Linked DNA regions of Homo sapiens: region 2 is linked to region 1. The links are contacts of gene promoters, found by promoter capture Hi-C in human tissues and cell types (Jung and others, 2019). All regions are on one chromosome and are shown on one strand. Each heading gives the region's core, a stretch centred on a gene start or on the middle of the fragment in contact. The rest is flanking DNA. Distances are from core to core; before and after follow the strand shown.

The links. The method cuts DNA at HindIII sites, captures the fragments that hold promoters and counts their contacts. A contact is called where the count stands out against the background at its distance.
Region 2: a contact is called between a fragment that was not itself captured here and the fragment with the promoter of ADRA1A in region 1, in 2 of the 25 tissues and cell types used here (dorsolateral prefrontal cortex and mesenchymal stem cells).

What each region holds. Positions count from the first base shown.
Region 1 is chr8:26,863,297-26,869,002 of GRCh38, reverse strand. ADRA1A (adrenoceptor alpha 1A) reads left to right here and starts at 1,725. Exons shown (of 3, transcript NM_000680.4): 1 at 1,725-2,067; 2 at 3,348-4,916. The coding sequence starts at 4,034. RefSeq lists an enhancer at 2,504-3,455. The HindIII fragment of the contact is 8,811 bases long and covers 1-5,706 here.
Region 2 is chr8:26,802,852-26,808,731 of GRCh38, reverse strand. All of the region lies in intron 2 of ADRA1A (adrenoceptor alpha 1A), which reads left to right. Among named protein-coding and RNA genes, the nearest start is that of ADRA1A, 61 kb to the left of the region's middle. The HindIII fragment of the contact is 6,498 bases long and covers 1-5,870 here.

The sequences.
Region 1 (5,706 bases), core at 476-2,975:
TGAAAAATTGGTTCTGAGAGGTCGTTTTGCAAGGATTGATGGTCACAGGCTGAGAAGCAGATTTGAAAGACCTACCTGCTAGCAGCATGAAGAGCTGCTCTTCCTTATCTTAGTATTAACTAGTTAATTATTGGAGGTGGGTGCAGGGGTGGATTATGTGTATTCTTAATTGTTGTAGAGTGGGGACTGGGAGTTACAAAGACTTTTGCAATTTTCGACCTTGCAGAGCTGAGCAATTTTCAGTTGCTTTGCTTGCTGATAGCACTGCTTCCCTTATCTACCATGGAACACATCTTAATGAAGAATTTGCATTCACAGCATCAGGTTAATGAATACAAAACAAAACAGTGTATATCCCTCTGATGGATGGGATTTCGGAAGCACAGACATTATACACATATTTGATGATAAAGTACTAGAAGTGCAGGGAATTGAGGTCAAGCTTCCTCCTAAGGGGACTGAATCCCAGAGAGAGCAGGTGACTTAGTAATGAGAAGTGGAGCTGTCTGTTCAACCAGGATGCTCCTCCTATGGCACGAAATTCAGTTTTAAAAATATATTAAATTCAAATCAAATGTGTTAGGTGTGAGTTCTATCCCTACAGGTATGAGGCAGAGGTGGAGGACTTTGTATACAATAGAGAAATAAATACATATATTAGGTCTTCCATGACATAGGATTTACTGACCCTCTCATGGGCATTCCTCTGAGGCATTTTGAGATTTATTGCTATAAAAGAGCCTCCCAAACATTATCTCACTTAGAAAAGGTAATCATATTAATATGATTTTGTTCACAGGAGAGAATTTAAGTGCCACTGCTTAAAGTTATCTCCTTGTTCCTAGGTTTAAGGAGACCTAGTAAATAAGAACATTCCACTTTGTCTGCATCAATAAAGATGAAAGATGACTTAGGAGGTGGGAATTGGAGTGGGAAACATTTTTCTATGTTCCCGATATTCTGAAACACATGTGACTTTATTCAATCACAAGGTAAACAGATTATGTAATTTACCAGAAAAAAAGTAATAAGACTGGTGGTGCTAGGTTTTCATACTCCAGCTATTAATGAATTAAAGAGAGTAACACTCCTGAAAGGATACCATTTTCTCAAGAAAACTGGAAAAGATTGTGTGGCATTTAAAAAATACCAAACTCTGTGGCCATAATGCTCTTAAAATTCATCTGTCTAAAGAAATTAGAAGTGAATCATATTAAATAAGGTTTAGATATGTCCACTTTATCTTCCTGAAAATATAATTTCATTACAATCAGATTTGTCATATTTTATCTGATTTTACTTGCTATTTAAAACACCTTATAATTTACTTGCATATTTAGAATTACAATATTCTTAATATACTTCTTGATCTTAACAAAACCTAGGCCAAATGTTAATCAAATCAAGCTGTTCAAAGTTACTTTATAGCACATTCCTATGAACACACCATACACACAGCAATATCTAGCAAGGGTGTCAATTTTTCGTTATTTTTAAAAGCTCATTTAAAGAAGTTATTTACTACAAATGACTCTACACACACACACGCGCGCGCGCGCGCGCACACACACACACACACACACACAAACCTTTTTAAAGAAACGCTAGAACCCAACCCCCTCTAGGCCAGAGGAAAACATTACAGCTGTATACGCACTTGTGCCTGTTGCCGTAGAGTAATACGGTAGCAGCAGGAGATTACGGTACTAGCTGGGCTACTGCCTGAGTTACGTCAGCGAGAGCTGCAAAGTTCCTTGCTATTCTTTTCTGGTGTCGGGGAGCTGAATATTAAAAGGGTGATTGTGGAGTTACCGGTTATCTGCATTTTTTTTTCTTTTCTTATTTTGACTCTTTTTAAAAAATGCAGGTAAAGTGACAGCGGTTCAGGAGCTTAAAGACATCAGTGGTGGAGGGGTGAGTCAGCGGGTGCAAAAGGACAAGGATTTGGTGCCTCGGAGACACGGTCCCCTCTCCGCCTCCAGAGAAGAGCAGGCAGGCAGCTCCCGGGACCGAAGCCGGGTCCACATCCCCCGCGCGCGAGCTGGTGGCTCAGCAGCGGCGCTTCAGGTGAGTGCGCCGGGGCCGGCGTCCCGCAGGGCCGAGTGGGTGAGGGCAGACCTCCCCCGCCGTCTGGTGAGACGGAACCCCCACTTTTCCCAGCGCCTCCCGCTTTTTCCACCAGGTTTTATACCGGCCCCTCTACCCCACCCCCGATTCCCTTACATCTTCTGCGAAGTTGCCTTCTACTGAACAAGTGTCTTTTTAACCCTGTGTTTATCACCCTCGAGGTAGGAGGAAAAGGGTTTCTGCAGTGGCACGTTTTTAATACCACCTGTGAGGTCTCCAACTTGCGATTTTAACAAGAGTCTTTGCCCGAGGTCCCACCTCAGGGCCCAACCCCAGAAGGCAAGGTGGGCACTTCCTCACGCCGCGCTGTCCTGCCGAGTCCCTGCGGTAGGTTCGCAGTTGTGGAAACCCAGGTTTCTTACGCAGATGGTGGCCCCCAGCCCAGAAAATCGAAGGCGGCCCCTGCCCGCTGGCATGCCGGCTTAATGTTTACGCCTGCAAAATCCGCAGTGACTGTCACTTGCAAAGCTCCCTCTGCAGAGGGACGTCCTCCCCACCCCGTCCCCCGCCAGTCCCGCTACGGCTGGCAGCTGGAGCCCCTCGGGTGGCCAACAGTGAGGCTTGGAAAGGCGTCGTGGACAGACCTGGGTCGCTTTCTGTCTTCGGGTCCCTCCCGGCTTCGCTCGGGACCTGGCTCTCAAGCCAGCTTGGCTGGTGGACAGACCGGTGCGCTCTGCACACCCGAGTGCGAATTCCACCGGCGTGAGAGTGAGCGTGCTCGTGGTCCTGGCCCTGAGGTCCCTGGGTCGCAGCTGTTCCCTCTCCCAGGCCGCCCCCTCCAGGTGACTGCGAGGCAACCTGTTCTAACGGAAACCGAGTACATCCTCCAGAATTCCCCGGCTAGGATCCGTGCGACACACTCGCCAGCCGCAGTCGCCCCTCCGGGGCTTCGAGGATTTTAATTTCGTGGTACCTGCGCTCGAAATCCAGACTTCGAGCGCTGGAGCCTGGGGTTTTGGGGATTTGTTTTTTTGTTTGTTTTTCGCTTCGGATCCTGAACTCGGGCAGAGGTGACTCAGTAGAGTGCGCTAGGCAGGTTCCCAGTGGTGGGGGCGCGAGATGAGCTCCGAAGTCGCCTCCACCGCTGCCGGGCGAAGCAGCTTCTGGACCGCAGAACCAACCCGGCTCCCAACTGGTGTCCCCCAACCCGTCAAGCTCAGCACAGCCTCTTTCCCTGGGGCGCCTAGCTCAAAGCCGCCTTTCTCTTTGCGCTCTTTCAGGTGGACGCGGTCAAACGATGCCCCGCAGCCTCCTGGGTCTCAGCACATATTCCACACCTACGTCCCCTGACCTGTGCTCCTAGAAGCTGGAGAGAGCAGGAGCCTTCGGTGGGGCAGCTCAAAATGTAGGTAACTGCGGGCCAGGAGCAGCGCCCAACCTGTAGCGCTGCGCTACCCAACCATCGGTCCCTGCCTTTGAGCGTCGACGGCTGATCTTTTGGTTTGAGGGAGAGACTGGCGCTGGAGTTTTGAATTCCGAATCATGTGCAGAATGCTGAATCTTCCCCCAGCCAGGACGAATAAGACAGCGCGGAAAAGCAGATTCTCGTAATTCTGGAATTGCATGTTGCAAGGAGTCTCCTGGATCTTCGCACCCAGCTTCGGGTAGGGAGGGAGTCCGGGTCCCGGGCTAGGCCAGCCCGGCAGGTGGAGAGGGTCCCCGGCAGCCCCGCGCGCCCCTGGCCATGTCTTTAATGCCCTGCCCCTTCATGTGGCCTTCTGAGGGTTCCCAGGGCTGGCCAGGGTTGTTTCCCACCCGCGCGCGCGCTCTCACCCCCAGCCAAACCCACCTGGCAGGGCTCCCTCCAGCCGAGACCTTTTGATTCCCGGCTCCCGCGCTCCCGCCTCCGCGCCAGCCCGGGAGGTGGCCCTGGACAGCCGGACCTCGCCCGGCCCCGGCTGGGACCATGGTGTTTCTCTCGGGAAATGCTTCCGACAGCTCCAACTGCACCCAACCGCCGGCACCGGTGAACATTTCCAAGGCCATTCTGCTCGGGGTGATCTTGGGGGGCCTCATTCTTTTCGGGGTGCTGGGTAACATCCTAGTGATCCTCTCCGTAGCCTGTCACCGACACCTGCACTCAGTCACGCACTACTACATCGTCAACCTGGCGGTGGCCGACCTCCTGCTCACCTCCACGGTGCTGCCCTTCTCCGCCATCTTCGAGGTCCTAGGCTACTGGGCCTTCGGCAGGGTCTTCTGCAACATCTGGGCGGCAGTGGATGTGCTGTGCTGCACCGCGTCCATCATGGGCCTCTGCATCATCTCCATCGACCGCTACATCGGCGTGAGCTACCCGCTGCGCTACCCAACCATCGTCACCCAGAGGAGGGGTCTCATGGCTCTGCTCTGCGTCTGGGCACTCTCCCTGGTCATATCCATTGGACCCCTGTTCGGCTGGAGGCAGCCGGCCCCCGAGGACGAGACCATCTGCCAGATCAACGAGGAGCCGGGCTACGTGCTCTTCTCAGCGCTGGGCTCCTTCTACCTGCCTCTGGCCATCATCCTGGTCATGTACTGCCGCGTCTACGTGGTGGCCAAGAGGGAGAGCCGGGGCCTCAAGTCTGGCCTCAAGACCGACAAGTCGGACTCGGAGCAAGTGACGCTCCGCATCCATCGGAAAAACGCCCCGGCAGGAGGCAGCGGGATGGCCAGCGCCAAGACCAAGACGCACTTCTCAGTGAGGCTCCTCAAGTTCTCCCGGGAGAAGAAAGCGGCCAAAACGCTGGGCATCGTGGTCGGCTGCTTCGTCCTCTGCTGGCTGCCTTTTTTCTTAGTCATGCCCATTGGTAAGTCTTGAACACCCCTCACTTTAGCATCTGGGGGTCTTCACCCTCCTCGGCTTCTGTTACCCCAGACTCCCAGTCCGGGATGGAAGAGGAAGGATTAGCATTTCAAACAGCACAGCTCTAGGGCAATTAGAAAAGGCTCCCTTGTAGAAAAGTGAATTTTCATTCTCTTTCTACTCCAGTCTCATTTATATTAGGTCCTAGAGCACTTTTTCGACTGTAAAGTGGCTTCCAACTGATGCAGATTAATTGGTCTCTTTAATAAGAATGTCAACTTTTCTTAATGCCTATAAGCACGTGTTCAATTTAAATGCATCTGCTCTCTCTAGTCTCAGAGTCTCCACCAAGTGCTTAGGCTGACTGTGGAATGCCATTTTCACTCTGCTACAGAATGCAAATTCTCTTGGCCTGAAAATAAGTACCATGCTTATTCTGGACAAATGTGTGATTTTATTATTGCATTAGGTTATTCATAAGGGTTTGTTATAATGGTCTGTTTATGTTCTATATCTGTGCTAATTTTATTTTCTGGATTCAGTATGGAAGGAATTATGGTCAGCCACTAAGAAAAAAAAATGATTTTATGTCCAAACCAATTTAAGCCTTAAATAATTAATCATAGTATTTCCAATAAGTAAATACTTATTTTTTTATTTTAATAATAAGTATTAAAACAAACACTTCTCTTATCCAAAATCATCCGGGAAGTTGCAGATAACACTGTTTGAAAATAATACAGTACACATAATGTTACAAATCCAATTTTTGCAGATGCTAAATTAGCTGTTGT
Region 2 (5,880 bases), core at 1,372-3,871, 61 kb after region 1:
AAATCACAGGCAACTGAAGTTTCTTATCTTAGTGAGTAGGAGAGAGAATGTGACATCTCAGTGTATACTTTTCACTAGGAAAACCTCCTAAGCAAAGGAGGAGAAAATGAGGTCAAGTTTAGAGTTGCTGTTGATTGTAATAGATCAGGAAGGCAGCTAGAAGCAGGAAAGGGGATGCACACCGCAATGGGGCTTTGTCATCAGCATAGAAGTGATCTATAGAGTCCTAAGAATTGCCAAGATCACCAAAGAAGAAAAGGCATCAACAATCAGGTAAAAGGCTAAGTTAAAAAAACTGTTCAAAATTTTAGTTATTCATTTCCACAGTGTATATAATGAAAAAAATCCAGCACTAGAAGATTAGTTGAATAAACTATGCTAAATACATACAATGGAATACTACACAGCTATAAAAAAGGATGAAGATCTTTACACATTGATAGGGAAAAGAGGACCAGGTTGTATTAAGTGGAAAAAGCAATATGTAGAAGTATATGTAGTATGCAATCTTTTGTGTAGGAAACATAAGTAAATAATATATAGACATACTTCTTATATTTGCATAAAACACTGGAAGAATAAAAAAGAAACTAATTAAAAGGATTATGTCTAGGGATTGAAGGGGGATAGGGGAAATAAAGTCAAGGGTATAACACCTTAGGGTATAATTTGTTACAGTGTTCTCATTTTTGAGCCACGTAAATGTATTACTTATTCAAAGTATGAACTTAGAAAAAATAAGTGCAGAATGCATTGCCCTGTGTCTAGTATAAAGAGCTTGGGAACTGTGGTTCCTTTTCCAAAGAGGAGCAGGAGGTGATGGTGTAGAGAGGGAGCCACATTGTGAGGCTTGGACCTTGCAAAGGAGGAGGGGAGCAGAATTTATAGGTGAGGAGATAAGGTGGATGGGTCCTGGCCTCTTTGGTGTGTCTCTTGCTCAGTACTCCTCAATTCCTGTTTTCCACCCACGCTGCCCTCTCCTGTCTTTTCCTGGACATTCTAAGTAACTTCCTAGTTTGCATCATGCTACATTCCCACCAAAAGAAACACCCTTCCCAATGTTTTCCATTATTCCAAATCTTCACTCATTCTTTTATTCAATAAACATCCAAGCACCTTTATGCACTACATGCTATAATGAGACCTGAACATGCTATGGTCCTCCCCACTTTGAAGGTTCACTGTCTATTAAGAGAGACAGATACCAAAATTAACAATGCAACATGATCTTTGAGAACAGCTTCTCTGAGAGATGACATTTACTCCAAATAATAAAAATTGACCAGCAGAGGGGTTCCCTCCAGTTCTCATACACTCTTTCTAACTTAGTGGTGCCAAACATTTGTATTGCTTTGATTTCTTCAGTTAATATTTTTAGCCACCCATGTGCTTGTCACCCTTCTTGATTCTTGTACCTTCTTATTATTTAATTATCAAAAGAAGCAGCCCTGTGAAAATCTGAAAATCAGTATGATCACCCTCATGACATTGATAAAGAAGGGGAGACTAGCAGAGCTCAGTGGCTTGCCCAGGGCCCAAAGCTAATTCCTTTTAGGAGGCTATGCTTAATGGAAAGGGGTTAGATTTGTGATTCTTATGAAGGGTAATAGTTACTTGCTGTGAAAAGTATTACAAGGCTTCTTTTTGTGTCGTTTCTACTTGATACAAGAAACTTGATAAGCCAAGAGTTACTGGAATTTTAGTAAGCTCGTTCAGTGAACATGTTTATTTTTATAGCACTTTACCCCCGACATAAGTTTGACATTATTAACAGAGCCAAAGCCAAGCCACTTTGGCCCTTGGTAAAGACCCAGCTTATCAGAGTTTGGGTCCAGCTCCCTCTAGGCATCTTCTCTCATTATCACAGATGCCAGCCCCCTCCCCACCCACTCTGGGAAGCTGAGGGTGTGGCTGGTTCTCCTTTTCTAGGATGTTCCATGAGGCCACTTCTAGCAGCAGCCACTGCACGTGCTCTTCCTATTTCCTCCTTCCAGGCATGTGGCAGCTTTATGTAATGACCGAACTCTCGGTTAAGCCAGAGTAAAGAGACTTAGGGAGAAACCTCGGACTCTCTGGCGATTAGAGAGGTTCCATTCTAAGCTATAGGCCATTTCATTTACTCCCCAGTGTGAGGCATGACATCTTCCCACTAATTAATGGTGGCCCTCCTTAGTGATGAGTTGCTATCTGGATTCCCACACCATCTGGAGAGGAGTCTGGACACTGGAGTTTCTATTTTTACCAGGCTCTGGCATTGCACTTACATTCCATTTCAACTGAGCCAGAGGCCACAGAAAACTTGAATCATGCTCTTTTTTTTTCCTTACCTAAGGCCACTATTAACAGGATAAAGGGCTTTTTGCACCCTGCTATCTGTTATACAGTAAGGGAAGAGCAAAACAGAAGGCAGCTTTCGAAAAAAAAAAAAAAATCTTTGGTGTAAACACCCAGCTTCTGGGGCCAGTTCCACCTTGTCTGAAGGAAGGCTGTAGGGAAGTGATTTTGCAGTTAGGAGGCTGCATGAATTGCAACCCAGTTAAAAACAGGGCAGTGCTAATAACCCATAATGGGTCATTCTTGGAGTAAGGGGAAAAGAGAGGCAGGACAGAATGGGAACATTCGGGAGTTCGGTCATTAGGTAAAGCTGCCACATGCCTGGAAGGATAAAATAGGAAGAGCAAGCACATTGGCGGCTGCCACAAGTGGCCTCAGGGAATGTCCTAGAAAAGGAGAACCAGCCACAACCCTCAGCTTTCCAGAGTGGGTGTGGAGGGGGCCTGCACCTGCAACAGTGATAGAAGATGCCTAGGGGGAAGGGGGCACAGGCTCTGATAAGCTGTGTCTTTATCAAGGGCCAACGTCACTTGGCTTTGGCTCTGTTAATAATGCCAAATCTATGTGGGGGGGAAAATGGTTAAAAATAAATGTGTTCAAGTAATGAGCTTACTGAAGTTCCAGTAACTCTTGGCTCATCAAGATTCTTGTACCAGGTAGAAGCAACACAAAAAAGAAAGCCTTGTAATACTTTTCATAGCAAGTAATTATTACCCACCAGCTCTGGAGCTGGGGTACCAGAGTTCAAATCCAGTTCCATCTCTCACTTGTTCCATGGCCTTGGGCAAGTTACTTAGCCTCTCATGCCTGTTTCGTAATCTGTAATAACACTAATGTCTTGGTATCCTCCTAGCATTTTTGGAAAATTAAATGAGCTAATATATGGAAAGCGTTTCGAAAGTACTGGGCATAGAGTGGACACGCAGTAAGTATTCAGTCTTGTATTACCCAGAGTCTTGGTCTCCCTTCTCTAAGACAATGTTGTAGCGTAGTAGACAAGTGATTTGCTTCATCTTTAAAGTGGGAATAATTCCCACCTTGTAGATCCAAACCAGAAATATTAATTCAATGTTAACTTACTGTCTAGCTCATAACACTCAAAATGTAAGAAAGCACAATTAATAACCATACTGAGGCAATAGGTGTAAATTGAGAGTGGACAAATGAGGAAGGCGACTTCACGTGAAGAGCCAGGTAGGCAGAGGTGAGAGCCCCATTCTTGGTCGTCACAGTGGGACACAATATAACTGACGTTTTAGGATTTGATTCCTAGTCTAGAATTAGCATGCAAACAACCAACAGCATTAGAAACAAAATTCAGAGCCATACTCTTTATCTCCAGAAATAATGTCTATGAAACCTGAGTGGTGTATGTTTGTGTGTGTGCATGCATACGAGCATGTGTGTATGTGTGTATGCATGTGAGAGAGAGAGACTGACTCCGAAGCTTATTTTGATGCAAATCCTTCATTGCCCTCACTGATGAGCTATGAAATTATAATTTCAGGCTTATCTCTAGCTATTAATAACAAACAATAAGAATAAATTAAATTTATATCAGATCTTATAATTACTATTATTTTTCACACACCATCTCATTTGCTCTCTGACATAACCATCCTCGAAGCATCATATGTTCTTCCAATGAGACACACAGAGGTTACTGGTGTTATTCTGGAGTTAGATCCCAAACTCTTAGTTTAGAGGTTGATTTTTCACTTTATATGATCATTTGTCCATCAAATAGTGATATATGTCAGATAAGTCAGAGCACAACTCTGACACCCATGGAATCCATGGAGTTACGGATTCTGTCCCCAGGCAAATACTGATCTGTTTACCATCACTGTAGATTATCTTGCAATTTCTAGACTCCTACAATGAAGAAAATCATGCAGTATGAATCTTCTTGGCCTCTTTTCTTTCATTCATGATAATGATTTTGAGATGCATGTCACATGTATCAATAGTCTATTCTTTTTTATTCTAGAGTAATAGGTATAATTTTTTATACTTTCACATATCGATGAAATTTGGACTGTTTCCACTTTGGGGCTATTCCAAATAAAGCCTCTTTGAACACTCATAGACAAGCCTGCATGTGGATGTGTTTTCATGTCTCCTGGGTAAGCATTAAGGAGAGTAATGGGTCCTAAGACAGATACACATTTAACTTCTCAAGAAATTCATGGCTTATTCCCATAACCCCACCACTTTGGGGGGCCAAGGCAGGAGGATCACTTGACCCTTGAGTTTGAGACCAGCCTGGACAACATAGCAAGACCCCGACTCTAAAAAAAATTTAAAAATTAACCAAGTGTGGTGGCACACACCTGCGGCCTCAGCTACTTGGGATGCTGTGGTGGAAGGATCTCTTGAGCCCAGGAATTCAAGGTTGCAGTGAGCTATGATCTTGCCACTGCACTCCAGCCTAAGCAACAGAGTGAAATCATCTCAAAAAAAAAAAAAAAAAAAAAAGGAAACTTCCAAAATATTCTTTTGCAGAGTGATTGTAGTAGGTATGTGGTAGTATCTCATTACGCTTTTCATTTGCATGTCCCTGATGACTGGCGATGCTGAGCATCTTTTCCTGTGCTCATCAGCTATTTGTATATCTTCCTATGTCAAGTGTCTATTCTAGTCTTTCATCTGTTTTTAACTGGACTTTTAAAATTATTGAGTTGTAGCATTTCTGCATATATTCTGGATACAAGTACTTTGTTAGAAATTTATATTGTCTGTATTGTCTCGTAGGCTGTGTTTTGTCTATTTTGTTAATGCCATCTTTTGATGAGCAGAAGTTTGCATTTTGATCAAGCTTATTTATCTACTTTTACATTTATCACTTTCCAAGTCTTATCCAGGAAATATTTCACTACTCTAGGATCACAAAGGTATTTTTCGATGTTTTCTTCTTAAAGCTTTATAGGTTTAGCTTTTATGTTTATGTTCAGACTCCATACAAATTAATTTTTGTGCACAGTATAAGTATAGTTCAAGAGTCATCTTTTTTCATTTTTAATTTTTATGGATACATAGTAGGATACATTTATGGAGTACATGACATATTTTGATACAGTCATATACTGTGTAATAATCGTATCAGAATAAATGAGGTTTTCATCACCTCTAGCATTCATCATTTCTTGTTTTACAAACATTCCAATTGTACTCCCTCAGTTATTCTACAATATAAAACAAATTATTGCTGACTGTAGTCACTCTGTTATGCTATCAAATACTAGATATCATTCTTCATATCTAACTATATTTTTAGATTAACCATCCCCATTTCCCATCTTCACCCTCCCACTACGCTTCCCAGTCACTGCTAACCATCATTCTACTCTCTGTCTCCATGAGTCAGATTGTTTTAATTTTGAGCTCCCCAAAATAGATGACAACATGAGAAGTTTGTCTTTCCTTGCCTGGCTTATTTCACTTAACAAAATGTCCTCCAGTTCCATCCATGTTGTTGCAAACGACAGAACCTCATTCTTTCTTATGGCTGAATAGTATTCCATTGTGTATATGTACCACATTTGT